Linked DNA regions of Homo sapiens: all the other regions are linked to region 3. The links are contacts of gene promoters, found by promoter capture Hi-C in human tissues and cell types (Jung and others, 2019). All regions are on one chromosome and are shown on one strand. Each heading gives the region's core, a stretch centred on a gene start or on the middle of the fragment in contact. The rest is flanking DNA. Distances are from core to core; before and after follow the strand shown.

Region 1 (2,700 bases), core at 184-2,683, 130 kb after region 3:
CAGGCTAGAGGGGCACCTTATGCAAAGTCCCGCCAAGCAAGACACAAAGCTCCTGGTTTGTTTGTGTTTTTGTTTTGTTTTGCTGATTTTTGAAACTAGGATTCTGGATTTTTCTGTGAAATCTCTGGAGTTTTAAGCATTGGCAATGATTCAAAGATTTAAAAACCCAGCACAGGCCAAATGGAACAAGTGTGAAGTGCCTCCTGGGATGTAGTGACTCCCAGGGTGTGAGCTCTTTGAGCCCCACAGTGCTCCTTCGGTTCTCAGGGGTCCTGCTCCACTCTACTGAGTTTAGGCACCAACCCCTGTGCAGAGCTTCTCTCCCCTGCCCCCCAGCTCCCTCTCACCCCCATCCCTGGCCTTACCGCACTGAACCTTCCTGGTCTGTTTCCATGGGTGTCTTCCCTACCAAGCATGAGTGTGTGGAGGGCAGGGTCTTGGCACAGGTGGCCATGAGTGAATATGAAATAAGCTAATGATGCAAGGGCTCTGGGAACCCGAACTGAACTATACTGTATGTATAAAAAAATTATACCTCGAGCTTGACTTCAAACAAATAAAACTACAAATGAGGCCAGGCACGGTGGCTCACACCTGTAATCCCAGCACTTTGGGAGGCCGAGGTGGGAGGATTGAGCCCAGGAGTTCAAGACCAGCCTGGGCAATACAATGAGACCTTGTCTCTACAAAAAATACAAAAATTAGCCCGGCGTGATTGCACATGCCTGCAGTCCCAGCTACTCTGGAGGCTGAGGTAGGAGGATTGCTTGAGCCCAAGAGGCAGAGGTTGCAGTGAGCTGACCATGCCAGCCTGGGTGGCACAGTGAGACCCTGTCTCAAAAACAAAAACAAAAACAAAAACAAAAAATTGATAAATTAAAAATAAAAAGAAGGGCAAAGTAACTGTCTTCCCTCCCATCACCCCTCACCAGAAGTAGGGGTTGGAGAAAAAGGATGAGCAGCCTTCTCCATCCAACTGCTATTAAAACCTAGGGCCCAGGCTGGCTGAGCATGGTAACTCACACCTGTAATCCCAACACTTTGGGAAACTGAGGCAGGAGGATCACTTGAGCCCAGAAGTTTGAGACCAGCCTGGGCAACATAGTGAGACCTCATCTCTACAAAAAAAAATTTTTTTAAGTTAGCCAGGCATGGTGGCATGTGCCCATAGTCCCAGCTGCTCGGAAGGCTGAGGCCACAGAATGACTGAGCCCAGTTTGAGGCTGCAGTGAGCTATGATTGCACCACTGCACTCCAGCCTGGACGACAGAGCGAAACTCCATCTCAAAAAAAATAAAAAAGGATGACTGTATACAAGAACTGTATGCCCTTGTGATAAATACAGCAATGAGGATGAGCTGGAGTATGGAGGAATGTGGTAGCCTAGATATGGATATTTGCAAGTGCTTTCTCCTGTTGATGCCAGATTTATGCAAACATAGGTGCTGCTAGATATAAGGGCAGAGATGACATTGCTCATGTGTTTGTGTATATGAGTGACTGACCTTGCTGCTTCCCCCACCTGTCCCTTTTTTTCTCAGAGCTTCTTCCCTTGAAAATGGCAAGAGGGATGGAATCCATGGTTAGGGAAGCAGGTCGGTCACAGAAGGGCAGTGGTGGAGGTAGGAATTAAACTAGCACACAGGGCAAAGCAGAGACACTAAAGTTTGTCTCCCACACACACAGAACAGGATTCCCTGTGGTGACTCCTGAAGCTGAAGTGATCTAATGGTGTCCTGCTGGTCACATATGCAGAAGCCATTCACACACACACACACACACACACACACACACACACACACTCCTGCAGACACAAGAGCTCCCGGTTATTCAACCTGTCAGACAAGGCACTCTGTCCGCAGGTGGTAGATATGGTCTGACTTCTGAACCTAGGCAAGTGTGCAACAGACTCTCCAAGAAGCCTTGTTAAAGTTGCAAGTTTTTTCTAGAAGAAAACATGGAAGGCCAGGCGTCCTGGCTTACACCTGTAATCCTACCACTTTGGAAGGCAAGGCGGGTGGATCATTTGAGGTCAGGAGTTTGAGACCAGCCTGGACAACATGGGAAAACCCCATCTCTACTAAAAATACAAATAACAACAACAACAACAACAGAAAACTTAGGAGAAAAATCTTCGTGACCTCAGGTTGAGCAAAGAGTTCCTAGATACAACACCAAAAGCAAGGCCCATAAAAGAAAATGATAGGCCAGGTGTGGTGGCTGACTCCTGGAATCCCAGCACTTTGGGAGGCTGAAGCGGGCAGATCACCTGAGGTCAGGAGTTTAAGAGCAACTTGGCCAACATGGTGAAACTGTCTCTACTAAAAATACAAAAATTAGCCCAGCATGGTGGCACTCACCTGTAATCCCAGCTACTTGGGAGGCTGAGGCAGGAGAATCGCTTGAACCCGGGAGGCGGAAGTTGCAGTGAGCTGAGATAGCGCCACTGCACTCCAGCCTGGGCGACAGAGTGAGACTGGTCTCAAAAAAAAAAGAAAGAAAGAAAGAAAGAAAATGATGATAAACTGGACTTCATCAAAGTCTAAAACTTTTGCACCTCAAAAGATATTATTAAGAAAATAGCATGGTATGGTAGCATGAGAATGTAGTCCCAGTTACTCGAGAGGCTCAGGCAGGGGGATCACTTGAGTTCAGGAGTTCGAGGGTGCAGTGTGCTATGATCTTGCCTGTAAATAGCCA
Region 2 (2,700 bases), core at 123-2,622, 130 kb before region 3:
TGCCCACTATGTCTGGCTAATTTCTTTAGGCTTCAGTCAAATGTCATTTTTCTGCACAGAAATCTTCTTTGACTTTAAGGTCCAGGTCAGAGCCACCTGGAACATGCTTTAACAGAATCCTATATTTTTCTTTCATGGTACTAAACACAATTGAAATTAAATTATTACTTGGGTAATTATTTATTTTCCCACTGGGATATAAACTCCAAGAAAGCAGCAATTTTGTCCACCTTGCTCACCACTGTATCCTTGGTGTCTAGCACATAATACAACAAAGTCTCAATAAACCATTAGTTGAATGAATGCATCTACGTACCTAGCATAGTGATGGAACATAGGAAATTCCCAGCAAATGCTATTGTGCCACCAGTCTCTTCTTGTCTTCCCTTCACTAACTATATAACCTTGGACACATAATAACTCCTCTGAACTTTGGTCTTTCGGAGTAACAACAACAACTTCTAAACATACTACTTAAGGATACCATGTGATATAAAGGGCTTGACAAGCTGTAAATCCCCATCCCTCTTCTGACTTTCTCTTTAAGTGATTATTATCCTTATCATCTAGGCTCAAAATCTTAGCCATCTTTTACTTCACCCTCTCCTCTGACATGCATATCCAATTAACTGTTAAGTCCTGTCTATTCTATCCTAGGAACAGCATTTTACATTTAACAAACACGGTCTTGCTTTAACATATTTTTCCAGCCTCATACCTGCTTGTTCCCCTTTAATATCCTCCAGCCAAAGAAAATTTGCTACTGTACAAACATGCCACTTGCTTTTTCCCCTTTGTGTCCCTTGTTCTCTCTGCCCTGAAAATTCTTTTCTCTTTTTTGTAGAGCCATTCTATCCATCCAGCTATGAAATCTTCTCTAAAAGCCTCTCCTCTGGTGTCCCATTGCACTTTTATCTGTACTGACTTGGGCTACTTGTCAGTTGTATATTTGCCTGTATTGTCTCCCATACTGAAACATAAAATCCCCGTGGACAAGAAACATGTCTTACTCATCTTAGTAATTCTAGCACCTAGCACAGTACTAGGCACACAGTCAATACCTAATAAATATGCCGAATAAATGAAAGCACATTACGGAATGGAAGGTACAAAGCCACAGTTGGACATTTTCCATAATAGTGTATTTTCAACCCTTACAGAAATAGACTTGCAGTGGAATGTCTACTATTTAGCAGCTGAATTCAGACTTGGGGAAGAGCCCAGAAACTGCTACACTTCACAGATGGTCATTTGGAAAAGAAAATTAATGCAGAGAGCTTGTGTAACTATTTAATAGTAGCTCAGGAATAGGTCAAAATAACAGATTCTCTGATTCTCCTGAGATGCCTATTTGAGAGTGAGAATCATCTGTGCCCCCACTCCCACACACACATCCAGGTTCACTCTGGGGTATTTTTCCAGAATGTACCAAAAGCAAAGTGAACTGGTCAGGCCTCCTCACTTGCATGAAGTGGAATCCACAGCCCTGTGACTACTTTGACCGGAGCCAGGGTACTGTGTTGACCACTTTTTGAGGCTACTTAGGACCTGAGCAGAACTGAAATGCATTTGGCTCCATGGGAGAACCACAAGCAGCTCCAAATTAAACTCCTTTAGAGACACAACACAAGTATAAACAAGCCTGAGCACTTCTTGGACCAAAAGTCACATTACAAGCTCTCAGAGGCACATGCAATTTTATTTGCTTCTTACAATTTAAACTCTGAAAGTTTAAATCCTTAAAAAAGTTTTCTATTGTAGCTCATTTTTTTTAACATGCTACTAAAATATAAAGAGACTTTATTGTGCCTAAGAAACTTGCCTGTCATGATCTTTATCCACCAGATGATACCTTGCCCTAAATGCTACAAGCCGGGCATAATATGCAGGGGCTGGAATAGAGACTGAGCGAGTGCACCTCACATAGGTGTGACACAGCTGGTAAGTCAGTAGCTGGAGTTCATCTGCAGTGAAGCAGTTGTCATCCCACAAGACCTGGTAATGTGAGGGACGGCTGGTTCCCTGAGGAGAGAGTTTTATGATTAATGTTTTTTTTTTGTTCGTTTTTTGTTTTTGTTTTTTTTTTTTTTTTTTTGAGATGGAGTCTCACTCTGTCACCTAGGCTGGAGTGCAGTGGTACGATCTTGGTTCACAGAAACCCCCGCCTCTGGACTTCAAACAATTCTCCTGCCTCGGCCTCCCAAGTAGCTGGGACTATAGGTGCACGCCACCATGCCCAGATAATTTTTGTTTTTTTTAGTAGAGATGGGGTTTCACCACATTGGTCAGGCTGGTCTCAAACTCCTGACCTCAGGTGATCTGCCCATTTCGGCCTCCCAAAGTGATTGGATTACAAGCGTGAGCCACCATGCCTGGCCTGATTAATATATTTCTGACATGACACGAGAAGAGAAAATAATTGAAACCTACTCCTTAAACTCAGAAATACTTCTGCCTAGCACACCTACAAGCAGATACCTAGACCAAAAGATAATTCTAGGATACAAGCATTAACAAAGTTAGGCACGGTGTTAAATAACAAGTCGACTCAAGCTAGTTGCTGAATTTGCAAACATCTCCCTATCAAGTCAAAGATCTGAACCAGCTTCCAAATTACCTGAATTCCTGCATGACTACAGAGGTAAAAGTCAAACTCAGATGGATGTGTGATGGTACTATCCACTGTAGTGCCTGCTGGTA
Region 3 (2,748 bases), core at 214-2,713:
GGGCTGACGTCTCCACCTGTATTTTCTTAGCTGGAGGAGTGTGCAAAGTTTGAATTACTTCTGCCTTCTCCTTCTTATTTCCTTTTCCCTTTTAAAATAGTCATCATAATCATAAAAATTTCTTTTCCATTTTCCCTGTTTTTGCATATAGGATTTCTTGGTGTGATTTAATTTGCCAATTAGTCTCTAGGTTGCAGAATGGTGACTTGGAATCAAATTGAAACTGGAAGAGGGCACCTCATATATTAGGGTCAGCAATTACTGAACTCTGTTCTCTTTTATTCCAAACAGGGCCCCCAACTTCACATTTCCCCAGGGTGCAAAAGAGTGAGGGGGGTCAAGCTTCAGTAGAGTGGAGCTCTGAGAAGAATCCACTGGAGTTTGGAACCCAAGACCCTTTTTTATCACGCTGTTCCTCCTCACCTGGGCAAAAGCACTGGTACCCACTTCACAGGCATCATGGGTGGGCTCTGTGTCCTGCGGAGAGCCCCCGTCCCGGGTACAGGACATCAGCCCTGAGCCCTGTCCCAGGCTTGGATCTTCTTTCTCTCTCTCTCTTTTTTTTTTTTTTTTTTTTTTTTTTTTTGAGACGGAGTCCCACTCTGTTGCCCAGACTGGAGTGCAGTGGTGCAGTCTTGGCTCACTGCAACCTCCACCTCCCAGGTTCAAGCGATTCTCCTGCCTCAGCCTCCCAAGTAGCTGGGATTACAGGCGCCCGCCACCAAGCCCGGCTAATTTTTGTATTTTTAGTAGAGATGGGGTTTCACCATGTTGGCCAGGCTGGTCTCAAACTCCTGACCTCAGGTTATCTGCCCGCCTCGGCCTCCCAAAGTGCTGGGGTTACAGGCGTGAGCCACCGCACCCGGCCTCAGTGACTTTAGTCAAGTAAGCACAAAAAGGAATATATAATTCCAAATTGTGATAAATGCTATGAAGAAAAGGAATGTGCTCTGACATAAAGGGGGGAACGAACGTGATCTAGGGAGTCAGAGATCTCTCCGAGAAGAGATCTGAAATAGGAGTAAGTCGAGAGGGGGAAGAGAATGCTAGACCGAGGGAACAGTGCGTGCCAAAGCCGCGTGGCGGAAAGGGGCGTGTGGGAGGGTAACTGCGGAGAGGGAGGGTAGAGGACGAAGCCGGAGAGGCAGACGAAGGGCAGGACGCACAGAGCCCCGCGGCTACCGCCTTAGGGGTTGTCCCGGCGGTGGGGAAGCCATTGAGGAGTTTAACGCCGGAAGGTGGTGACTAATCAGATTTCACTTGAAAATGGCACGGTGTCTGCAGCGAGGCTAACTGATGGGAAGGGCCCAGCGAATGCCAATAGGAGAGAGCACCGGACCTGGAAGGCCTGGGTCAACGCGGCCCCGCGCGGGGGCGAAGCGGTTCCGGCGCAGGGGCCTGGCGCGGGGCTCCGCGGAAAACCGAACCGGCCCACGTGGGACCGGTCGCTCCGCCCTGCTGCGCAGACGCCGCCTGACTCCGCAGTCCGGGACTGGGGCTGGGCGCGCTGCCCGGGAGCCCCGCACCCACGCCTGGACCGCGGAGACGCCCAGGCCGAGGAACCCCCAGCCCAGGGACTAGACACCACCAGGGCCGGGCGGAGCCAGAGCCAGACGCGCCGGAGCGGGCGCCTCTACGCCGTGAGTCCGAGTCTGGGGCCCGAGGCGGGGTGGGGCTTGGGGCTCAGCCGCGGGAAGCGGGGAGTCACAGTGGCCTCCTTCGAGGAGACTAGGGAAGGATGGTCTCTGTCTCCTGGGGTGGTCTCCCACTCCCGCAAGGCCAGAAAAGGAGGCTGCCTCCTGTTTGGGCGGAGACCTAGTCCTGGCGTGTCGGGGTTCTCATTTTACTATCTCTGAGAACCCTGTGATCCCTAGCGCCACCCCCACCCCATCCCAGCTTCCTTCACGGCCCCATCCAAGTATAGGAAAAATAAAAAATTGGGGCGAGGGGAGATCTCTAGGCACCTTCCCACAAGCCTTGCTTAGAGGGCGATTAGAAACGAACTGTTCCTACACCCTTCTCCCCAGGACTTCTCTGCCCATTGCTGGGGGTGGGGAGGGTCCATGCCACCTATGGAGCGCCTTCCAGTGCCGGCTCCACTTACAATACCCTTCCTCTTCATGCTCTTCAATTGTTCTAATCCCAGTGCTGTTTGGTCAGTAGAATCCCTTTGTCAGTTCAAATCCTAATTTTGGTTAGAAGCAGGTTATGGAGGAGAGAAGAGTGGTGTGGTATGCCCTCCCTCCAGGGCCTCAGAATGGAGCAAGCTAGGGACGGGGACCGCAAGATAGTGGCTGTGTTCCAGAGGCATTGGGAGGGAAGGGGGCAGGCTCAGAAGAAAAGCTTGTCACTGGGGAAGGCGGGGCTCCCTGGCTGGGGTAGGAAAGGGAACCAAACCCAGCTCTTCCAGAACCCAGCTCTTCCAGCCCTGGGGAGTCAAGAGTGGATTCCTGAGCATGGAAATTCACTGCAGTCTCTTCTCCCATTCACTCACTTAGCAAGTACCTGTATGCACAGACAGCCTGGTTCAGGGCTCTATGCTGGCTGACTCTGGGGAATATGATGGAGGATATATACAGGAGGTCCAAGCCAGATTACAAACTGCTATTACAAGATCATTACCACAAACCAAAAATGCCAGTTGAATAGACATTCACTGATCGTCGACCATGTATGCCAGGGACGGATGCAAAGTTGGATAAGACAGTGTATACCCAGCGCAGTGGGGACCCAGAGGAAGGCATAACT

The links. The method cuts DNA at HindIII sites, captures the fragments that hold promoters and counts their contacts. A contact is called where the count stands out against the background at its distance.
Region 1: a fragment that was not itself captured here is called in contact with the fragment with the promoter of C1orf216 in region 3 in 2 of the 25 tissues and cell types used here (dorsolateral prefrontal cortex and spleen).
Region 2: a fragment that was not itself captured here is called in contact with the fragment with the promoter of C1orf216 in region 3 in 2 of the 25 tissues and cell types used here (H1 embryonic stem cells and hippocampus).

The regions. Positions count from the first base shown.
Region 1 is chr1:35,582,706-35,585,405 of GRCh38, reverse strand. The region is part of intron 3 of TFAP2E (transcription factor AP-2 epsilon); the gene reads right to left. Among named protein-coding and RNA genes, the nearest start is that of TFAP2E-AS1, 6.2 kb to the right of the region's middle. The HindIII fragment of the contact is 9,807 bases long and covers 1-2,700 here.
Region 2 is chr1:35,850,176-35,852,875 of GRCh38, reverse strand. It overlaps AGO4 (argonaute RISC component 4), which reads right to left. Exons shown (of 18, transcript NM_017629.4): 16 at 2,618-2,700; 17 at 1,823-2,022. Among named protein-coding and RNA genes, the nearest start is that of AGO1, 32 kb to the left of the region's middle. The HindIII fragment of the contact is 6,144 bases long and covers 1-2,700 here.
Region 3 is chr1:35,717,599-35,720,346 of GRCh38, reverse strand. C1orf216 (chromosome 1 open reading frame 216) reads left to right here and starts at 1,463. Exons shown (of 2, transcript NM_152374.2): 1 at 1,463-1,640. It also overlaps a transcript of CLSPN not described here. RefSeq lists a silencer at 1,302-1,731. The HindIII fragment of the contact is 4,693 bases long and covers 1-2,748 here.